7 separate regions of the Homo sapiens genome follow, and regions 1, 2, 3, 5, 6 and 7 are each linked to region 4. The links are contacts of gene promoters, found by promoter capture Hi-C in blood cells and fetal thymus (Javierre and others, 2016). All regions are on one chromosome and are shown on one strand. The core of a region is centred on a gene start or on the middle of the fragment in contact, and the rest is flanking DNA. Distances in the headings are between cores, read along the strand shown.

Region 1 (3,335 bases), core at 460-2,959, 400 kb before region 4:
ACATATGTATGCATGTGCCATGGTGGTTTGCTGCACCTATCAACCCATCATCTAGGTTTTAAGCCCCACATGCATTAGGTATTTGTCCTAATGTTCCCCGCCACTTGCCCCCAACCCCGGACAGGCCCTGGTGTGTGATATTCCCTTCCCTGTGTCTATGTGTTCTCATTATTCAACTCCCACTTATGAGTGAGAACAGGACCATAACATTTTAAATAGTGATTCCTCTGGTTGGTTGTCCCTGGATTCCCATCCTTGCTGACCTGGAGCTTGGGTGTCTGTCTTGGCTCTGTCTTCAGCAGCCCTCCTCTAGATCCATACTGGACTCCACATTTTTTGCTTTAGTTACTCAGTATCTACAGTCCCTTCTCTGTAGCATCTTCCAGAAGTTTCTCAACATTTTGATCTACTCATACCATCCTTCCATGCTTTCCAGACTGTTATAAAGTCATTTCATTGGAATTTTAGGAGACAGTATATAGTCACCCCCACTATTTGGAACTAGTTTTCAGTACATTTTAAATGTATTAATACCCACCTATATGCAAACACCGCTATGTACCAGTTGCTGTGCCCAGGCCTGACTGTGCTCATTTAGTCCTCGTGACAAATTTATTTTATTTTATTTTTTGAGACAAGGTCCCACTCTGTTACCCAGGCTGGAGTGCAGTGGCACAATCATGGTCCATTGCAGCCTCAGATTCCCAGGCTCAAGTGATCCTCCCACCTCAACCTGCTAAGTAGCTGGGACCACAGGAACACGATACCATGCCCAACTAATTATTATTACTTGTATGTGTGTGTGGAGACAGGTTCTTGTTGTGTTGCCCAGGCTGGTCTCAAACTCCTGGCCTCAAGAGATCCTCCCACCTTAGGTTCCCAAAGTTCTGGGATTACAGGCGTGAGCCACCATGCCCAGACCATAATAATTTTATGAATTTTCCCAGCCCTGTTTTACAGATGAAAAAACTGAGGCTGAACCAAGTTAAGTAAGTTACTCAACATCATGCAGTAGTTAGCATTGAACCTGAGTTTGACTCATTCAGTTACCACATTCACACCTAATAAGTTTTCTGATGATACAGCAGGGCCCCAACAGGTACCATCTGAAGGACAAACAGGGATAAATCCAAGTTCCTTATTCTCTGTTTTTATTTTATTGATATATGAATTAAATAGAGAATTCACTTTTGTGGTCTAAGCAAAACCAACAGAGAACTCTGGGGCATTCTCTGTTTGCAAAGACATTATTTCCATTTTAGACATGTGCTTTCTCGCACAGCTGTAAGAGAGAAATGAAAAATACAGTAGCTGCAGACCAGGCGTGATTCCCATGTAGACTGTGCAGAGAAAACTATGATTAAATTAAAAGGCTGTCATTTTCCATATATGAAAAAACTACCCATAGGAAAGTGTGTGTCAGTATTCATCAAAAAGAAATTGAAGAAATTCATGTAGAGCATAAAATGTGATCAGATGTCCACTGAATTGACAGGCACCCTTCATTGCTTCATGAATGTGCTCAGATCTTAACTAGTTTGCTGTTTGTGACACTCTGTAGACAGGTACATGTCTAGCTAGTTGACATATTCAAGGACACAAATTTCTATTTTTTTCGTGACAAACATCTCATCATTATGGCAAAAGAAAATAAATTAGTAATAATGCTGACATTTTATATATTATGTGTCATAATGATATAATAATTACTCATTGTAATTAATAATAAATTAATGATTTTTGCACCTTCTGATGGGTAGATACAATGCTCAAATTCTCCATAGAAAAGATATTTACATTTTTAAAGAAAAAATTATAATTATGTCATTATTAATTGTTAATGTTCATCACTTAGTAATTATCATTTTTAGGTGACTAAAGACTGACATTTTGGGCATGTTTAAGCACTGAATTTTGACATAAACATGTCATTCACCAGATGTGTGTCCTTGTGTGATACCTATCTTCTCAGAGCCTTCATTTCTTCACTTGCACAATGAGGATAATATATTTTGCAGAGAAGTGGAAAGGATGAGAGGCATAACCTCTAAAGCATAATATATTGCCAGATGCAGGTGCCCTGGAAATGGTAGGTATTAGGATAATTTGTTACACTTATCAATTTCTGCTCAACGAACCACCCCAAACTTAGAGGTGTAAAGCAGACCATTTTATTATGGCTGCAGGTTCTGTGGGTCAGGAATTCCGACAGTCCACAGCAGGGCTAGCTTGTATCAGCTCCATGATGTCTGTGACCTCAGCTGGGAAGACTTGAGCAGTTGGGGGTGACCCAAAAAGCAGGAAACTGGGCTCATCTGGAGGGTTTTTCACTCTCTTTCCTGGTCCCTGGGCTGAGCTAGGACTGGCAGTGATGAGATCCCCTTCTACAGCCCCTCCGGGTGTCCTGGGCTTCTACTATCGAGGCAGCTGGGCTTCCAGAAGGAATGTCTGGAGAATGAATATTCTGAGAGGCCCAGATAGGTGGCTTTTGATGGGGGGACTTCCAGAGTCACATGGTGGCATCCACCACAGCCATCACAAGGCTGGTCAAGTTCAAGGCGATGGGACACAGACCCCACTTCTTAATGGGAGAAGTGTCAAAGAATAGGAGGCCCATCACCATCATTATCATTACACTGTGAGTATGTTTCTTGAATATGAGTAAAGAAAGAAAGTTTTTCATCATCCAACAGGAATTAAGTGAATATTTGCTTCAAGAAGTTATCCAGTTGGCTGGATACAGTGGCTCACACCTATAATCCCAGCACTTTGGGTGGCCGAGGTGGGAAGATCACTTGAGGCCAGGAGGTCAAGACCAGCCTGCGCAACATAGCAAGAACTCGGCCCCACAAAAAATTTAAAGATTAGCCAGGCATGGTGGTACATACCTGTAGTCCCAGCTACTCAGGAGGCTGAAATGGGAGGATTGCTTGAGGCCAGTGGGTGGAGCCCAGCTTGGGCAACGTAGTGAGACCTCGTCCCTACAAAAAATTTAAAAATTAGCCAGGCATGGTGGCGCATACCTGTAGCCCCAGCTACTCAGGATACTGAAGTGGGAAGATTGCTTGAGCCCAGGAGTTTGAAGCTGCATTGAGTTATGATCACACCACTGCATTCCAGCCTGGATGACAGAGCAAGACCCTATGGAAAAAAAAAAAATTATGTAGTTGTCCAGGGCAGGAACATTAATAGTGAGAATGAGTTTGATTCCCTAATACATAGCTTAACACCAGATTTTTTTTCATTCTGTACCTCTAAATAATAAAAAGATGTGATCATTTGTAATGTTTTTTTTTAATATAGAGATGGGGTTTCACCATGTTGGCCAGGCTGGT
Region 2 (2,973 bases), core at 360-2,859, 480 kb before region 4:
TAAGAAAGTCCTGAATTTACTGTACTAGTTGAAGTTAGAGCTTATGTTTAATCCAAATCTCTTTAGCTGTAATTCTCAGGAAATAAGACTATATTTTGTATAGGTTTTTTTAAAAAGACTGGTCTTCTTTTTATGGAGTTGATCCCACTGACAATGACTCAAATATATTTCAAAAGCCCAGTCCTATTAAGTGTTGATTTCACAATATGTAAACACTGGGTAGTGCTCTTTCGGGAGAATTCAAAATATTTCAGTAGGGTTTTACTAGTTTCCAAGGACATTGGGTAGCAATCCGTATAATAGACATGCTAGTCCCATGTCTTGAGCAAACTGATAGGTTCTTCCAAGAACACAACCAGGAAAACCAGTGATCATGGTGCAGCTGTGAGTCTCAAAAGAAGAAAGAAGACTTACATCATCTTCCAGGCTTCCCTTGGGCATCTGACCACATTTGCTGCGCAATTGCAACTGGCTGGATATCATCATGAGCCAACTGATTTAAGGCAATGTTAACTATATTACGCTAGTGGATCAGCTATGTTAACAACACCGTTTGCAGCAAACCTAACATACTTCTAAGCAAATCAACCAGAACAGACCAGATGTGTCTGTTTCTCTTGAGATTTAAGTAGATAAGTAGATTGAAACACAATAATTTGTCAGGACATAGTCCAGTAGGTAATTCTGTCCTGGAAACAGTGGCTAAAAGAGTCATAGAAATTGCTGATGGGATCCAGAGGAGATTAAACATGCTCACGTCAGAGCTGTCTCCAAAACAGCACACAAGACACTCGGCAGGGGAGAGAATCTCAACGTCCATCAGCTCTCTGGCCTGGACCCCAAACTGGTCCAAAAGTAGAGAGTACTGTGGCTGAGTAATTGATACCTGATTGCATACATTCATCAGTTTTACATTTGTACCATTCTTGCTGATATAAGAGATCAAGGGAAACCCTTCATGGCCACCAGAGGCACCCATGGAATAGAAAATCTGGTTAAAAACAAACTTGTTATTGGTAAGCTTCCATGAACCACACGGCCCTCCCAACATGGAATAGGCTGGTCATGTGTGGATAAGATATGGTTCATTTTAAACTAGGATGACAGTTACTGACACTGCATTGCTGTTGAAATCTGTGCATTCGTGGCCACTGCTCTATGTCATGAGACATCCAAAACAAGCTGAATAGGTATGTGAAGATCATACCAATGGTAGTCTTTGCTTTGGCTGCAAAGCTGATGAGGACTTCTGAGGCTTACTTTGAGGACATGACCAGGCCTCACTTGGGCAAGCTGCTGACACCAGTGCTCCAAGAGTACCTCCTCCTAGGGGGCTCATTCCCAGCTCCACTGAGCTCAGATACTTCCGCACTGTAATTTGAATTTAAGGAGAACTAGAGAGAGTTTCTGCAGTTGTGTTTTACAGCATAATTGAGGTCAGCCCATAGTAAACAGCATTGCCTGAATGCCATCCTCACTGGATGCTACAGAACCAGCTTCCTCTCCTTTTACTTTGAGTTTTAGCCCAGGATAGGTTTAAGCAGAAGAAGACCTGGCTGAGGGTCACTCAACATCTGCAGCCCAGGTCTTGGCAAGCTGATTTCCACCAGGTTCTGAACAAGCCATGCCTGACAAGTCTGGCATTCTTGCACTTCTTTATTGAAGAAATAGCCACCACCACCCAATCCCAGTATAGCATCTTTCTCAGCAACACCCAGGCACTGGAAGCCACCTATTTAGAAAGGAAATAATATGCATAGCATCTATACTTTTAAATAACTTTTGAGAAAATAGTTCATAGTTAGATTAAAAGATTTACTACCATTTATGTGAGAGGAAATAAAATATTTAAAAGAACAAGTGGTCTATAAACAACCTTGCTTGCAGAAAGTATTAAAATATATTAGAAAAAAAGAAGAATTTAGATAGAAGGCGTAAAGAAGTCGTAGGGTTTGGAAGAGTTGGAGATTATATTTCTGCAAGCAAATCCAGACAGAGAAAAGTTAAGAAAAACCTACCAGGACTTGAATACTGCGCTTTTTTCTGTTGTTGATAAGAAAAAAGTGCTTGAGAAAACTGATGGTGCCAAGTCACAATGTTGTGCTGGCTTCTGCTCTGCTTTCTCGGAGAATTTCCAGGGAATCATTACTCTGCATCCGGTGGGAAGGGGTGGGGGTAACATCCCTAGGCCTATCTGAAAGCTTCCTCTTAGCTACACAGCATGTATAAGTGAGATAATACAAAGCCTTTTTAGCTTAGTCACTGAAAATGCGCTTGCCAATTCAAGGTAAAAATGGTCACTTCCAGTTTGAAACTTTGGGTAAATACTCAGTCACTTCAAAACAATCCCCCTCCCTCCCTCCTCCTCCTCTTTCACTGTCTTTTCTTCCCAGGGATGATATAAGTTCCTGAGGGACCTGGCTGGCCCCGATGCCTAGACATCCCTCTAGGTCAGATCACTAGAATGACGTTAAAGTTGTAGTCTAACATCAGAAGAGAATAAATGTAGATTTGAAGCCCTGCCAGACAGAAACAGTTCATTCATATTCTACAGATATTTATCAGGTACCTCCCACATACCAGATGCTGACTGGGTACTGGACTCCACAGTGATTAAAATAGATAAAAACCTGCCTTCATTGAGCTTTCATTCTAGTGGGAGGGAAAGCAGAAAGTAAATAACATGAGAAAATACTTAATTTTCTCAATCAAGTTATCTTATATTAAACACAACTTGACTAATTGTAACCAAGCCATTTTCATTGTTGCCACCAGATAGCTCATGACAGACAGACACTGAGCCCAAATGCCATTATTACTACTAATCCACCAAGGCCCTTCTCCTCTGAGTCCACATACTACCTAAGGATCCTTCTTAGCACAATTCTCCAGGTATTTCTTACCAATAAGGACAGTCATCCAAGAAATAATAGTATTCTTTTGATATCCAGAATATAGCTCAAACTAGGTGCT
Region 3 (3,403 bases), core at 727-3,226, 510 kb before region 4:
AGAGATGCAGGTGTAGACATCAAATCAGTGATTAGCTCTTCTATCCCAAATTCTCTCCTTTTTGTTATGTGACCATATTTCTAATTTTTCAATTCGTATTTAAATTTTGTTCTAATATCACAAAGAATCAGTGCAGTCCACCCTCTATATCTGCAGGGAATTGGTTCCAGGACCTCTCAGATACCAAAATCCGAAGATGTTGAAGTCCCTTATGTAAAATGGCATAGTATTTGCATATAACCCCTACTCACGTCTATATATATATATATATATATTTTTTTTTTTTGTAGGGACAGGGTTCTTGCTATGTGTGTCAGGTTGGTCTCAAACTCCCGGCAATCCTCCCACCTTGGCCTCCCAAAGCACTGTGATTACAGGCATGAGCCACCAAAGCCTGGTCCTCTCTTATATTTTAAATAATCTCTAGATTCTTTAGAATACTTAATACAATGTAAATGATGCATAAATAGTTGTTATATTGTATTGTTTTATTTTTTTAATTATTGTATTGATTGTTATTCTTATTAGGTTTCTTTCCTAAATATTTTCTATGTGTATTTCATGAAATCTGTGGATTTGGAGGGCTGACTGTTATAACTAAGGTAGTTTTAAAATTTCAGCTAATTCAGTATCATCTGATAGGCATGTTCTTTTCTTTTATCAGATTACTTGTAGAAATACTATAATTTAAACAGAAATGTGGCTTTCTACAGTAGTCACAGAAGGCTCAGCGCTCTTCCAAAAAAAAAAATTAGGTTTAGAATAAAAACATTTTTATAAATCAGGAAGCCAAAAAGCACAAGGTTATTGACTACATCTGTCTTTAGTAACAGATGGTAGTACTAATTGTTATTCAGGAGTGACATATTGTTTTAATTTCTCAGGGGTAAAATATGAAAGTAAATGTGCATAGATTTTTAGCTTTGAAAATTTTATGACTCCCTTAAAACAATTCAGAAATAAGAAATAAAATGTGTTGTCTTTTTTGGGGGGAAATGATGTGGCCTTTTTTAAGGAGAAGCATTTTTAGAAAGGATCAGAAAATATCCCAACTTAGAAAAACTCATTTGAAATTAAGTTGTATATTTGCATTTGAATGAGGTGCTATTTCTGTTCATTTTGATAAAATCAGCATTCTGCTTCCAGTAATATTCAGAGATTTGTGTCAGGCCTCTGAGCCCAAGCTAAGCCATCATATTCCCTGTGACCTGCACGTATACATCCAGATGGCCTGAAGCAACTGAAGACTCACAAAAGAAGTGAAAATGGCTGATTCCTGCCTTAACTGATGACATTCCACCATTGTGATTTGTTCCTGCGCCACCTTAACTGATTGATTAACCTTGTGAAATTCCTTCTTCTGGCTCAGAAGCTCCCCAACTGAGCACCTGGTGACCCCCGCCCCTGCCCACAAGAGAAAAACCCCCTTTGACTGTAATTTTCCACTACCCACCCAAATCCTATAAAATTGCCCCACCCCTATCTTCCTTGCTGACTCTCTTTTTGGACTCAGCCTGCCTGCACCCAGGTGATTAAAAAGCTTTATTGCTTATACAAAGCCTGTTTGGTGGTCTCTTCACATGGACGCACATGACAATTTGACTATCAAACTTTCATTGCAAGTCATGGTGATGAAGAAGTTCTGCACTCACCATTCCAGAAGATTCAGAACAGATCCCTTGTTCAGGGGTTCCTTTAGTGCAGATAGGGATTTTATTAATTGTTGGAAAGATAAAGCATCTCCTTCTACCTGTGGCAGCTGGATCATTCTCACTACACAGAGCTAGAAATTTAAATAAATAAAGGAGAGTAAGATGGAGGTGTGCATGGACATTTAATGGTTCATCAGACTGAATGCTAACAGTATATAGCTGTATGTTTTACAAGGAGGAACTCCAGAGTTTTGAACTCGATGCTTGCCAAACTTAAGCATAATCTTTGAAAGAACAGCTTTGAAATCTCCAGTTACATATTCAAATTCTCTTCCGTCTTGTCCATTGGACACCCACCTACATAGTCTGCTTTAGGATGGAATTTTCTGCCCATCACACTCCAAAATATTTCATCCTCTGCTGTGTCCTTCCAAGGTGCAGGTAAATTTACCATTAGAGGGCTACTCTTTCGGATTAAGCATTGTGCTTCGCAGGGGACCTCTTTGAAAGTGTCATTTTTTCTGAGAGAGGTCATATAGAACATCACTGGCATCTGCACCTGTAAGGATTTATCAAATAGCTGTGTAGAGTGTGGAGTAACAAGAGGGAGAAGAAGAGGCCGAAAATGAAAGAGAGAGAGAGAGAGAGAGAGAGAGAGAGAGAGAGAGAGAGAGATGCTGTTCGTCAGCCCAGCATGAATTCAGTGATTATGCTGATGTTTCCCTCAGTGAAATACCTCTAACAACTAACAAAACTGTTGCAAGCTTGGCTCCTGCTTTGTTAGACTTATTTAAATCACAAAACTACCCCAATCAGATAGCCTCTTTGATTTGAATTATGTTGTATCCAAAGGCTACATTAAATGAAGCCACATTAAATGAAGTCATTTCCATGACCTTCACTACACAACTACATGAAGAACACAAATAGCCTGTAATTTGCAACTCAATCACAATCCCGTTCTCATTTTCCAAACTGACACAGAGCCAATTTGTAAAATGTATAGACACTTAGCGCAGTACCTGGCAGTGCTATTTGAATAAGCACTTGGCATCAGAATGAAACTGGCTTTATCAATTCTTTTTTCTCCCCAGAATTTGTGATTAGAGAGCCAGAAAGAGAAGGATAGGGATCCCACAAGGCTGGGATTGGGAGATGTAATTGGAGAAGGTAGGGTGGCCTGTTCTGCCTTTTGAACTCAAGAAGCAAGAGAAAAAGTCAGACTACTGAGAGAGAAAGGAGGACGCAGTGGTTATACAGAGAGAGTCTAGACAGCTTGACAGTTCCTAGCTCCAGTTCCTTACTAAGTCTGACTTCACTTCTAATCCTGGGGTATAGGAGACCCCTTGTGTCCACATAGTAAATTCCCTTCTGCTACCTGTTTACTTTTGCTTTCAGTCAACCTAAATGGAATTCTGTTGCTCGACAGAGTTGCAATTAATATGGTTCTTGGGATGGTTCTGCAGACACACCCTAATCTGTAACTGTACCATGTCAGGGAGGATTTCCAAGAAGGCTTCCAACAGAGGCTACCTTGTTTTAATTAAAGGTCAAGATGCATTTCAGAAGAATGCCCTGCATACCACTGAGAAGATCAAGAAGTTAGCCACTCCTATCATCAGTATATCAACAGCATAAGAAGCAGTCAAATGGGATTGTCCTCTGAAGACATAAAACATAAAATCAGTACACAGTGGATCAGAATAAATACACACCAAAGCATCATTTATAAAAAATTGGCCTGGTTCGTA
Region 4 (3,420 bases), core at 497-2,996:
ACTTATCAGGAGAATTCCTAAAGTGAAAGCTTGAAAAAAAAATTGTGAAGATAAATTCCGAGTAGTGCTACTGAAGATACAATGTTACTAACATGAAAACTGAGAAATATTCAAAACATTCTGAAAACAGCATCTCCCTCTAAAAATAAAGAGGGGAAGCATTTGCCAACACAGAAACATCGGTTCTTAAAAATTATAATCACATGGGAGACATTTCTATAAACAATTTAGTTCTGAATTGCAATAACCCTAACCTTTCAAAGCACGTTTTGGCCTTGCCTTACCAAAAGCAAGAGCATTCCTGGTGCCTTTATATTTATACAAAGGACTGTGCTACTTTGTTTCTAGCGCAAACTGTTGGTTTACACAGTTAAAGATCTTCAAAACAAACTACCACACACAATTCACTTCCAATCATCCAAAGAGAAACGAACAAACAAGCATCTGTCACAAAGTCCCAAGAGTTTTCTAATTTACAATAACAGATATTTTTACGTTGTAGTTCAGAGGCTACCTCTGTTCGTTTCTGTATTTGGATTCACATACTATACATTTACTTAGCTTGTTAAGAGAGAAACCTCAGAAAATAAGCAACCGGCGATGACACCAGTCTATTTTAAGTTACTTATGAAGCCTACAGCTCAAGAACTTTTGGGAGAAGGGAGGGTAAGCCGTTTTTCCAAGGAGTTAAGAACAATTCGTGTTTGATAATTAATGATAGCAGCCCTAACAACCTCTTAGAATACATTATGGTGGGGCGGAAGTGAAAACGATGAGAGGGGGAAAAAAATAAAAAAAACCCGACTTGAAAATGGACAAGCAGACAGATTTACAAACCTTCAATTAAAGGAATTTTAAGATGAACTTCTCTCAAACGCCCTCCCTCACTCCCCACACCCGCTTCCTCCTCTCCTCCGGGAGGTCGGTGTAATGTGACTCATGACAAATTTTTTTTAAATAAATAAATAAATAAAAGACACACCCTCTGGGGGCTGAAACTGACATAATCGCCCCCACCCCACCCTCCGCCGACACACAACACACACCCCGCTGGTCCTCTCCCTTCTGCGGCTTCAGCCTCGTCCCTGCCCTCTCCTCTCCCCTCTCCCGTCCTGGACCTCCTCTCCCGGCGCAGAGAGGCGGCGCGGCGGCAGCTCGGGGGTATTCCGGGACTCCAGCCCTGCGGACTGGAGGCTACCTGGGGGGCGCGCGACCCCGGTGGCCGGGCCCTGGGGGAAGCGGACGCGAGGGGGGCGCCGGGCTGCGGCAGCGGCGGGCTCCCGGCTCCCTCGCCCATTTTCTCTCTCCCCTTCTATCGGTTTCCACCACCACAGCCACTTCCTGTATCGCAGCCCGACTCCCTCAGCCCGGCCACTCGCTCTGTCCCCGGTTGGGGCTGGGGTTGGGGCTGCGGTAGGGGCTCGGGTTGGTGGCAGCCGCTGAGGTCAGGGCAGTTCCCCACCCCGCCCAGTGGGCTGGTCACTCCGGCGGGTCCTCGACCCGGCCAGCGCCCGCCGGCCGCCAGAGCGCCTCACCTGTATGTAGTTGTTTTCACAGTAGTCTGCCACCCGAGTCAGGTTCTGGTAACTCTCGATCAGCGCCCTCTTGCCAGACGGGATCTCCTCCTCTAGTAACATCTGCAGCTCTGCCATTTTCCACCCCTCTGCATCGCTTCCTCTCGCGTTAAAGAGACAGAGGCAGCAAGGTCCGCCGAGGCTCCGAGCACCTCACAGCCCGGATACAAACCGCCTACCCGCCCTCCCGCCTGGTATTGTGGGACGGCACCTCCTCCCCTTCCTCCTCACTCTCTCCAGCCCCCCTCCACCCCCTTCGTGCAGCCGCCTGAACCTCGTTCTCTCGCGAGCGTTTATTTCTCCCACCCCCACGGACCGCGGGATTTTTTTTTTCTTTCGCACTGTCTTCTGGGAATTGTAGTCTCTCCTAGGCTAGGCGGCCCGTCCAAAGCGCATGCGCCCAGACACCTCCGAAAACCAACGCGGCAGAGCGCAGAAAGCGGAGACCGAGGGTGGAGGGAGGGGGCGGTGTTGGGGGGAAGTCCGGAGTTTCCTCACAGCTCCGGAAGGTGGCGCCACAGGGTGATACTGGGGGAATGAAATCGGTTCCCCAAGTTTCATGTGAAACTTGGCAGAACTTGGTTAATTAGGAAATGTCAGTGAATCAAGGACACCCATTCAGAGAAGGATTAAAAAGGGGACAGAGTACGGAAAACTAGATTTTTACTTCCTCTGCCTTCTTAGAAATAAAGCGAGTCAGGCTTTACTTTCTGAAGTTCCGCCCCCATCAATTCATTTAAAATTTAGCAAACATTTCTTGATTGCCAGCTGTTTACCAAGCAGCGTACTAGACACTGGGGGTACAAGTTGAGTACGAATACTCCGTACCCTTAAAGACTCAATTATAAAATAAACATACATAGCTTGTAGTGCTTTCCTGTCCTAATTTCTCTTTTCTCTGACTCTCCTTATCATGTAATCTTCCTACACTTTTAAGGTCATGTGCACGTTTTTTTAGGGGTGGGAGTTGTTTGCTTGTTTGAGACAGGATCTCACTGTTACCCAGCCTGGAGTACAGGGGCACAATCATGGGTCTCTGCAGCCTAGACCTCCTAAAGTCAAGCGATCCTCCTGCCTCAGCCTCCAGAGTAACTGGGACTACAAGCGTCGGTCACTACACCTGGCTGAGCTTTTTAATTTTTTATAGCGACAGGGATCAAATTATGTTGCCCTCGCTCGTCTCGAACCCCTGGCCTCAAGCAATCCTTCTGCCTCAACCTCCCAAACTGCTAGGATTACAATCATGAGCCACCCACCCTGATCCTTCGTTTTTTGCTCCTGGATTTTTGTTTTGTTTTGTTTTTATCACCTGCTTTGGAATAGTCTCAAAAGGCCCTATATTTCAAGCTCTTCACTTCAACAGGAACATTAAATGCTTCGGATATAATCAGCTATGAAAAGTGTTGTCCAAAGACTTTGGACATATGTTCATGTATCTCCATAAAGTCATTTAGAATCAAAATAACTAGGAGTAAAAACATCACTCAACCAAATTAAAAATTGCCAGCACCAGGTATTTATTGAATATTGCCTTTACTGGGGCCTTATTCAGGGCCCCAGGGAACCAGTTTCCCTCTTCGACCTCTGAAAGGAAAAACTCAGTTTCCTACTAAAAACGTTAACTTCCCCTTGCCACCAGATTCTCCATCAAGGAATCTATCAAAAGATAACTATTATACCTATTCCAGATATTATGGAAAGTAATACATTTATTATCTGGAATAGGTGTAATAGTTATCTTTTGATATTTATCGTTAACCCAAACACGACTTAATCCAAGTTATTAAAATTTAATGTATTATTGATCTTGGTCTCTACTTGAGGTTTAACTGTAGAAATCACTCAG
Region 5 (3,261 bases), core at 405-2,904, 460 kb before region 4:
TTAAACAGCAATTATGTACCAACTATTTTACATAACTTTCCTTCAAGTCAGACTGTAGCCTTATGATGCTATCATTTGTTGTGTGTGTGTGTGTGTGTGTGTGTGTTTTCTTTCGAGATGGAGTCTCACTCTGTCACCCAGGCTGGAGTGCAGTGGCGCAGTGGCTCGGTCTTGGCTCACTGCAAGCTCTGCCTCCTGGGTTCACGCCATTCTGCTGCCTCAGCTTCCCAAGTAGCTGGGACTACAGGCGCCCACCACCACACCTGGCTAATTTTTAAAAATATTTTTAGTAGAGATGGGGTTTCACCGTGTTAACCAGGATGGTCTCGATCGTGACCTTGTGATCCGCCTGCCTCCCAAAGTGCTGGGATTATAGGCGTGAGCCACTGCACCCGGCCATTTATTGTGTATTATGCTTCCTATGTGCAGGGCACTGTGCTAATTTATATATAGTATACTATCTGACTTTTTCAGAATAATAGCTTTAGCAGACAGCTATTATTATCCCTACTTTGTAAAGAAAATGAACTTTCAATTAATAATTTGTCCAAACACCTATTATGTGGAAGTTCTGGAACTCAAACCCTGATCTGTCTGAATCTGAACTCAGTTCTATCAGGATCTAAAGTCTGAATTTTTTCTAGAATATCATCCTTTCTCTCAATGTTGCCTAATTTTTAGTTGCTTAGGAGGGTTATAAATAAATATCCAGCTTACACTACATTTGCTTTATCCTTTGAGGAAAATTTTTTAAAAAGCTGCTACTTGCTAAACACCGTGCTCTGTCACCTGAGGCCAGAATGAGGAAATGTAGTGGAGGCAAACTATGTCCTTCTGTAAGTTGGGAGCAGAGTAAATGTAGATTGATGTTCAATGTAGATTCTATCTTAACTATTCTGTGTTTTCATTTAATCTGTTATTGTACTGCCCAGTTTACAAATTACACCGTAATTTAGTTTGTCACACACCTTTGTAATATAAGTGTGAATTACCCATTCAGGGCTACTAAGAACCTCAACAAGATCTCATAACTTGAGCCAGGTTACAGTTGGCAGAGCTGATTCCAAACTGGACTTCAGGCACCAAAACCTGGGTCTTCTTCACCAGTTAGAATGGTGATCATTAAATAGTCAGGAAACAACAGGTGCTGGAGAGGATGTGGAGAAATAGGAACAATTTTACACTGTTGGTCGGACTGTAAACTAGTTCAACCATTGTGGAAGACAGTGTGGCGATTCCTCAAGGATCTACAAGTAGAAATACCATTTGACCCAGCCATCCCATTACTGAGTATATACCCAAAGGATTATACATCATGCTGCTATGAAGACACATGCACACGTATGTTTATAGCGGCACTATTCACAATAGCAAAGACTTGGAAACAACCCAAATGTCCATCAGTGATAAAATGGATTAAGAAAATGTCGCACATATACACCATGGAATACTATGCAGCCATAAAAAAGGATGAGTTCATGTCCTTTGTAGGGACATGGATGAAGATGGAAACCATCATTCTGAGCAAACTATCCCAAGGACAGAACACCAAACACTGCAAGTTCTCACTCATAGGTAGGAATTGAAAAATGAGAACACTTGGACACAGGGTGGGGAACATCACACACTGGGGCCTGTCGTGGGGTAGGGGGAGGGGAGAGGGATAACATTAGGAGATATACCTAACGTAAATTATGAGTTAATCGGTACAGCCAACCAACATGGCACATGCATACCTATGTAACAAACCTGCACGTTGTGCACATGTACCCTAGAACTTAAAGTATATTAAAAAAAAAACAAAACACCTGGGTCTTCTTATTCTAATTCCCTGCTTACTGATATCACTTCTTATCATTTCCTCTTATTTATACTGGGTTTTTTTCCTGTACTGAAAAATCACCAAGCTCTGAATTATCCTGAAAGCTACTCTTTCAGATTCTTTTTTTCTTTTCCCTTTTTCTTTTTTCTTTCTTTCTTTTTTTTTCTGTGGCAGAGTCTGGCTCCATTGCCCAGGCTGGAGTGCAGTGGAATGATCTTGGCTCACTGCAACCTCTGCCTCCCAGATTCAAATGATTCTCCTGTCTCAGCCTCCCGAGTAGCTGGGATTACAGGTGCCTGCCACCACACCCTGCTAATTTGTGTATTTTTAGTAGAGATGGGGTTTTACCATGTTGGCCAGGCTGGTCTTGAACTCCTGACCTCAGTTGATCTGCCTGACTCGGCCTCCCAAAGTGTTGGGATTACAGGCATGAGCCACCGTGCCCCACCCTCATTCAGATTCTGATTCAAATAACATTTATTTAACACCTCTGAGACCCCATGCCAAATATTCTTGTGTGCATTCTTATCCCTACCTTATGATAACCATTTAAGGTAAGTATTATTCATCTTATAAACTATTAGTTCTCACAAAATAAGAATCCTTTCAAAATAAGAATCCTTGGCCTCCAGGACTTTACAGTGTAGGAGGCTGACAGTAAAAGCCATGCTGATTAGAGGTGATGATATTCCCTTGGGACGCACCAAGTGTCTGTGCCGTCTCTCAACCTGTCAGCTCCCTCTTCTCTTTACTTCATCCTGCAAACCCCATCAGCCATCATGTCTGCATCACTCCTCCTGAAATTCTCAAATCCCTCAGCCCTCCGTCCTCTCCATGAGCCCCTAAGCAAATGCACCCCCGGGGCTGCAGAGCACACAGCCACTCACACAGGTGCCAGTCATCATTCAGTTTCCACATCCACTGGACCCTTCTTTTTTTTTTTTTTTATACTTTAAGTTCTAGGGTACATGTGCACAACGTGTAGGTTTGTTACATATGTATACATATGCCATGTTGGTGTGCTGCACCCATTAACTCGTCATTTACTTTAGGTATACCTCCTAATGCTATCCCTCCCCACTCCCCCAACCCCATGACAGGCCCTGGTGTGTGATGTTCTCCTTCCTGTGTCCAAGTGTTCTCACTGTTCAATTCCCACCTATGAGTGGGAACATATGGTGTTTGGTTTCTTGTCCTTGCGATAGTTAATGGAATACTATGCAGCCATAAAAAAGGATGTGCTCATGTCATTTGTAGGGACATGGATGAAGCTGGAAACCATCATTCTCAGCAAACTATCACAACCACTGGGCCCTTCTAAGTCCCCACTCCCAGTTTTCTATGTGGTTCTCCACAGCAGCTTTTTGAAACCTCTTACCTCTCAGCATCCTCCTCATTCATCAGGTCCCAACTCCCTCAGCATTCAGCCATTGCAAAGG
Region 6 (3,326 bases), core at 50-2,549, 450 kb before region 4:
TTTGGGAGACCGAGCAAGGAGGATCACTTGAGCCCAGGAGTTTGAGACAAGCCTGAGCAACAAGGTGAGACTCCATCTCTACAAAAAAATTTAAAGATTGGCTGGGCATGGTGGTGTGTATCTGTGGTCCCAGCTACTTGGAAGGGTGAAGTGGGAAGATCGCTTGAGCCCAGGAGGTGGAGGCTGCAGTGAGCTATATTTGCACCACTACATTCCAGTGCAGTGCTGTGGGTGACAGAGCAAGACCTAGTCTCAGACAATAAAATAATGTGCAAATAACAATGTAACACTCTAATGTAGGTTATACCTTATTCTATTTAGTGACTTTCCTTTCAGTTTACGTGATAAATTACTTCAACTGAATGTTATAGTAACACATGTTGTTGAGTTCTGCTTAGATAGAAAGCATCACATACCAAGAGGCTATAATATCACATTTATTTCATCATTTACCCACATTTGACAAGAATGGCTCTTTAAAGATAATGACTTTTTAGCTACAAACTAGAATCATTAAGTTCACTTGCCAAAGAAGAGAGAACATTTACTTTCAAGATGTCAGTCAAGATCCTTTAGCACAGATCTAAACATATAGATGCAATGAATAACAAGCCAAGTACATGAGACTCGCAGCTTCACTGTGCAAAGACTCTGTTAACTTGCATATATAGGAGCTGCTTTTCCTTGCTTCATGGTTGCTTCCAGTACAATTCAAAAGAAACATACTCTGCCACCCAAACACCTTGACAAGTGACATAGATCTTTCCTGAAGATTTCTTGTGGACATCCAGGGAAAGATAACACAGCAGGGCTGTCCCAGTAAATCTGGGGACCCAAGATCTTAGCTTGTAAGATTCAAAAGTCAAGATCCAGGTGTCAGATACAAGTTATCTGCAAGTATATATAATCAAGATTAGAAAATTCTTGTCCCTTAAGCTTAAAAAATGAAGTTCCCTGGGTATATTAGATAGCAGTCGTGTTTGTGTGTAACAGAGATCTTAAAATTAGAGATTTAATCACACAAGGGTTGATTCCCTCACATACAAACAATCTACAAGTAGCTAGTCCAGGGCTAATGAGGCTATTCCACAGAGCCTTCAAATGCCCAGGCATCTTCCACTTTGCTGCTCTGATGTCCAAAGCTTCTAAATTCAAGGTCATCTCATGGTCCAAGAGGGCAATAATTGGGCTTGCATTCCAACCAGCGGGAAAGAGGATATGAAAAAAGGCACACTTCAAGGGCACTTCCTGAAAGTTCCAAATAATACTTTCACTTATCTCTCTTTGGGCCAAAATTTATTGACATGGTTGCAAGTAGCTACAAGGGAGGCTGGGATACAGACCTGCTAGCTGGACACATTATCCAAGATTCTGTGTTAAGGAAGAAGACAATGGATTTGAAATATATGCAATTGAGCAGAATTCATTTTTCCCACCTATACGTTCAGCCTCCAATCAAAGCTTGGGATGGGAGGAGAGCCTTTGAGAGAAGAGGAGCAGAAAGGGAAGTTGGCATGGATTTCCCAGCCTTTTGGCCAAGTCTGCAGGGATCAGAGTTCTGAGTCAGGTAGACTCATACCCTGATGCTCATCTGGATGCCCTTGGAGGATGCCAGTGTCCCCCACACCCTCACAGCTGGTAAATATAGTTGCATGGCAAACTGAAGCCAGTGGGCTGGAAAATGCCATTCACAGTCCCCAAGCCCCAACATGACGTGGAAAGCCCCAGCATGACGTGTTTCTCCTGTGTGTCTAGAATAATGAAGAAAAGACACTGAGAGCTGAAATCAAGGCACTTAGAGGTGCTAAGACCAAGGAGGTTTGCTGGGATTAACTTCATAAGATTCAAATGAAAGAGAATTATATCACCATGAAAGATAGTCTGAAAAAATTTGATTAAGATCCCTTTTGAAAGTATAACAGAAATAACTTAGAATCAGTTGGGGTTTTAAAAAAATGAAAGCTGAAATGATGGAGAACTGTTGACAGAAACGAGGATTTTACTAAATATAATCTCATTGACTAATTGTAAATGTGGCTCCAGGAGAGAACAACAATATGGTTTCATTGAGAACAAATTACAATTAAAAAGTGGAGAAATATTTCTATATGGGTCTAGCTAAAAAGTTAAATTTTTAGTAATGAATTATTTTATACTTTTACCTGAAGTTGTAGGATATAAAACTGAATAAAGCAAACCAAATTAGAAGTAGCTGAGGTAGCTTTTGTAGGATCTGCTTGGTCATTCAATTACACCAACACCTTCTAATATCATTTATGGTTAACATTGAAAATATCTACTACCACATATTTTTCTGTGCTTGAAATTCATTTTTTCATATGGAGTTTTCCACTTTGACCAGATTCCTTCTTTAATCTTGGCAAAGATGGGAGGGAATGAAGAAGGAGAGGGTGGGAGGAAGGAGAGAAGGTAGGGAGAGAGGAGAGGAAGGCAGAGAAATAGACTAAAGGTTAGAGGGTAGAAGGGAATTCTAGACTAACGTAAACAAGAGAAAAGTTTCTCATTTAAAGTGTATGTCTGGGCCAGGTGTGGTGGCTCACACCAGTAATTCCAGCACTTTGAGAAGACGAGGTAGGTGGATCACCTGAGGTCAGGAGTTAGAGGCCAGCCTGACTAACATGGTAAAACCCCATCTCTACTGAAAATACAAAATTAGCTGGGCATGGTGGCAGGCGCCTGTAATCCCAGCTACCTGGGAGACTGAGGCAGGAGAATCACTTGAACCTGGGAGATGGAGGTTGCAGTGAGCCAAGATCGCACCATTGCACTCCAGCCTGGGCAACACAGCGAGACTCCATCTCTAAATAAATAAATAAAGTGTATTTCTGGCTGGGCACAATGGCTGACGCCTGTAATCCCAGGACTTTCGGAAGCTGAAACAGGAGGATTTCTTGAGCGCAGGAGTTCAAAATCAGCCTGGGCAACATAGCAAGACCCCATCTCTATAACATAAATAAATAAAATGTGTTTCTACCTGGTGTGGTGGCTCATGTCTATAATCTCAGTGCTCTGGGAGGCTGACGTGGGAGGATCATTTTAGGCCAAGAGTTTGAGACCAGCCTGGGCAACATAGTGAGATCCCAGCTCAACAAAACATTAGAATAATTAGTTGGGCATGGTAACATATACCTGTAGTCCCAGCTACTAAAGAGGCTGAGGTGGGAGGATCGTTTGAGTCTGGGAGTTCAAGGTTACAATGAGCTATAATCGGGCCACTACACTCCAGCCTGGGCGACAGAGCAGGACTGTCTCAAAATAACAATAATAATAATAAAATGAAATGTATTTATTTGCTATGTTCATTG
Region 7 (3,055 bases), core at 366-2,865, 430 kb before region 4:
AATACAGTATATCATACATATAACATACAAAATATGTGTTAATTAACTCCTTATGTTATCGGTAAGGCTTCTGATCAACAGTAGGCTATTAGCAGTGGAGATTTTGGGGAGTCAAGAGTTATACGTGGAATTTTCAACTGCGCAGAGGTCAGTTCACCTAACCCCTGCCCTGTTCAAGCATCAAATGTATATCTCAGAGTTTCACGAATTTCATGCTTATTTAGTACCCTGACTAACACTGGGCCCCCTCCCAAGGGCATAGCCCCTGTGCAGTGTCAGTGCAAAGAAACCAGCAGCCAATTTAATTTCAGACCAAGTCCACATTTCTTAAAACCCCCTTCCTCCTTTTCTTCTCAACTCCACCCTTCTCATATCCTGCAGTTTCCCTCAAACCTTTTTCTCCTTGCCTTGCTCTTAGCTTCCCACCAAAGATTCTCTCCTAAGCCTTCTTGAACTCTCTCATGTCTTCTTCACTCCTCTCTTTCTGCTGCTGGTCTTCATCCTTTCCTTTCTGGTTCTCCTCCTGCTGAGTACCACTGGAGTGTAGGAGAGAAGGGAGTTGGCTTCAAACAAAGGCCAGGGACCAGTAGCAGGTAAGGAGGCAGGTAGAGGGAGGATCTTGTTAACAGGCAAGAGAAAATATATTCACTATATGTGACATATATAATTAGTAAAAATATACTAATTATATATACCTGTTATGGTTAAAATAGAAATCATGAGCAGAGTTATTTTTCATTGCCAGTTTATAATATTTAAAAAGTTAAAGCATTGAAACTTGACTGTGACAGAAAAAATGAGAAGCACAGATACCCAAGATGGTGTCTTGGGTGTTTACTGCTGTGAAGAAACCAACACTTAGAGCAGGGGTCCCCAAGCCCCAGGCCATGGACTGGTACCAGTCCGTGGCCTCTTAAGAACCAGGCCACACAGTAGGAGGTGAGCAGTGGATAAGCAAGTGAAGCTTCATTTGTATTTACAGCTGCCCCTCATCACTCGCTGTATTAGTCCATTTTCATGCTGCCATTAAGAAATACCTGAGACGGGTAATTTATAAAGAAAAAGAGGTTTAATGGACTCGCAGTTCCACATGGCTGGGGAAGCCTCACGATCATGGCAGAAGGGAAAAGAAGAGCAAAGGCACGTCTCACACGGTGGCAGGCAAGAGAGCGTCTGCAGGGGAGCTGCCCTTTATAAAACCATCAGATCTCGTGAGACTTATTCACTATCATGAGAAAACAGCACAGGAAAGACCCACCTGCATGATTCAATTACCTTCTACCAGGTCCCTCCCATGACATGTGGGGATTGTGGGAGCTACAATTCAAGATGAGATTTGGGTGGGGACACAGCCAAACCATATCACTTGCATTACTGCCTGAGTTCCACCTCCTGTCAGATCAGCAGCAGCATTAGATTCTCATACGAGCACAAACCCTCTTGTGAACTGTGCATGTGAGGGATCTAGGTTGTGAGCTCCTAATGAGAATCTAATGTCTGATGATCTGTCACTGTCTCTCATCACCCCCAGATGGGACCATCTAGTTGCAGGAAAACAAGCCCAGGGCTCCCACTGATTCTACATTATGGTGAGTTGTATAATTATTTCATTATATATTACAATGTAATAATAATAAAAATAAAATGCACAATCAATGTAATGCATTCGAATCATCCTGAAACCATCCCCCCCACCAATCTGTGGAAAAATTGTCTTCCACGAACCCAGTCCCTGGTGCCATGAACTTAGTCCCTGGGAGACCATTGACTTAGAGGCTTAAGACAGCCATTTATCATCATCTTTCAGGGATATGAGGCTCAGCGCAGTGGTTCTCCCTTGGTCTCTCAAGCAGTTGTATTTAGAGGACAGCTGGCGCTGGAATCATCTGAAGTTTTCCTGGGTCTGGGCAGTGAAAATGGTGTCTTCACTTCACATCTGATGCCTCCATGCCCCACCATGTGGCTTCATTGCCGACACAGTAGCCAGGACTTCTTCATGACTGCTCAAGGACAGAAGAGGCAGGATTTAAGTACTATGTTCACCATCACTTCTGTTCTATTCTATGTGTCAAAGTACATTCAAGGGAGAGGGAGAGAAATGGATCCTACCTCTTAATGGGGAAGGAAGATATGGCCATGACTAGCTTTGGAAAATACAGTCTACTACAGATGGCATAAAAGTTAGATTTTTAAAAATAAGCTAGATATTTAAATCAGAAACTAATATCCCCTACAATTGAGGGCAAGTCAAATAAAATAAATAGACAAAGCTTTATAAAATGCTAAACTAAAGAAAATTACCTGTGAAAAAAAAGAATGACAGAAAGAAAAAGAAAAAGCTAGCAGGATTCTGACTTCAAGTCAACCCGGGTCCCCTTACAGAAGGTGAAAGTACTTTGGTCAGGAAGAGATTGGCCAGAATACATGTTGGATTTGATGGGCTTGCCAACAGAGTGAGGTAGTGAGACACAGTCAAATCCAACTCAGTGTAAACTGAGTTTCTTTACAGTTCTATAACACACATCTTTTAGCCACTAACCATCTTCTTCCGAAATACCTGAGGAATTCTGCTTTTATTTTCTTGAGACAGAGTCTTGTTGTGTCACACAGGCTGGAGTGCAGTGGCACAATCTCGGCTCACTGCAATCTCCGCCTCCCCAGCTCAAGGGATTCTCCTGCCTCAGCCTCCTGAGTAGCTGGGATTACAGGCATGCGCCACCATGCCTGGCTAATTTTTGTATTTTTAGTAGAGACGGGGTTTCACCGTGTTGGCAAGGCTGGTCTCAAACTCCTGACCTCAAGTGATCTGGCTGTCTTGGCCTCCCAAAGTGCTGGGATTACAGACGTGAGCCACTGCTTCTGACTGAAGTCTGTTTTCATTGGTCACTGTCCAAAGAGAATGCCACCTGGGGGGGTTTTCCCCCACACCATCGTCTCCATGATGGGCTGTTCTTCTGTGTTCATGGCCCCATGGGTCATTCTCTTCCCCACCTCCCAAACTCTTTCTTGCCACTCCTGTATCTTGAAGCTATTTCTGGAGTGTTCTGCTAACCTC

Evidence for each region. The method cuts DNA at HindIII sites, captures the fragments that hold promoters and counts their contacts. A CHiCAGO score of 5 or more calls a contact.
Region 1: a contact is called between a fragment that was not itself captured here and the fragment with the promoter of ABI1 in region 4, in 4 of 17 cell types (total CD8 T cells, fetal thymus, total B cells and 1 more). The highest score is 7.5, in total CD8 T cells.
Region 2: a contact is called between a fragment that was not itself captured here and the fragment with the promoter of ABI1 in region 4, in 3 of 17 cell types (monocytes, M0 macrophages and M2 macrophages). The highest score is 9.6, in monocytes.
Region 3: a contact is called between a fragment that was not itself captured here and the fragment with the promoter of ABI1 in region 4, in 1 of 17 cell types (neutrophils). The highest score is 5.1, in neutrophils.
Region 5: a fragment that was not itself captured here is called in contact with the fragment with the promoter of ABI1 in region 4 in 1 of 17 cell types (activated CD4 T cells); the score reaches 5.6 in activated CD4 T cells.
Region 6: a fragment that was not itself captured here is called in contact with the fragment with the promoter of ABI1 in region 4 in 1 of 17 cell types (M2 macrophages); the score reaches 6.8 in M2 macrophages.
Region 7: a contact is called between a fragment that was not itself captured here and the fragment with the promoter of ABI1 in region 4, in 7 of 17 cell types (neutrophils, naive CD8 T cells, monocytes and 4 more). The highest score is 9.0, in neutrophils.

The regions. Positions count from the first base shown.
Region 1 is chr10:26,463,788-26,467,122 of GRCh38, forward strand. The region is part of intron 2 of APBB1IP (amyloid beta precursor protein binding family B member 1 interacting protein); the gene reads left to right. Among named protein-coding and RNA genes, the nearest start is that of APBB1IP, 27 kb to the left of the region's middle. RefSeq lists a silencer at 1,317-1,366. The HindIII fragment of the contact is 3,863 bases long and covers 1-3,335 here.
Region 2 is chr10:26,378,743-26,381,715 of GRCh38, forward strand. No RefSeq gene overlaps it. Among named protein-coding and RNA genes, the nearest start is that of APBB1IP, 58 kb to the right of the region's middle. The HindIII fragment of the contact is 1,180 bases long and covers 1,020-2,199 here.
Region 3 is chr10:26,351,266-26,354,668 of GRCh38, forward strand. No RefSeq gene overlaps it. Among named protein-coding and RNA genes, the nearest start is that of APBB1IP, 85 kb to the right of the region's middle. The HindIII fragment of the contact is 876 bases long and covers 1,539-2,414 here.
Region 4 is chr10:26,859,212-26,862,631 of GRCh38, forward strand. It overlaps ABI1 (abl interactor 1), which reads right to left and starts at 1,747. Exons shown (of 11, transcript NM_001012750.3): 1 at 1,536-1,747. The coding sequence starts at 1,652. RefSeq lists silencers at 1,120-1,269, 1,380-1,469 and an enhancer at 1,790-1,989. The HindIII fragment of the contact is 3,622 bases long and covers 28-3,420 here.
Region 5 is chr10:26,395,520-26,398,780 of GRCh38, forward strand. No RefSeq gene overlaps it. Among named protein-coding and RNA genes, the nearest start is that of APBB1IP, 41 kb to the right of the region's middle. The HindIII fragment of the contact is 4,604 bases long and covers 1-3,261 here.
Region 6 is chr10:26,411,905-26,415,230 of GRCh38, forward strand. No RefSeq gene overlaps it. Among named protein-coding and RNA genes, the nearest start is that of APBB1IP, 25 kb to the right of the region's middle. The HindIII fragment of the contact is 319 bases long and covers 1,141-1,459 here.
Region 7 is chr10:26,427,784-26,430,838 of GRCh38, forward strand. No RefSeq gene overlaps it. Among named protein-coding and RNA genes, the nearest start is that of APBB1IP, 9.0 kb to the right of the region's middle. RefSeq lists an enhancer at 2,894-3,055. The HindIII fragment of the contact is 1,306 bases long and covers 963-2,268 here.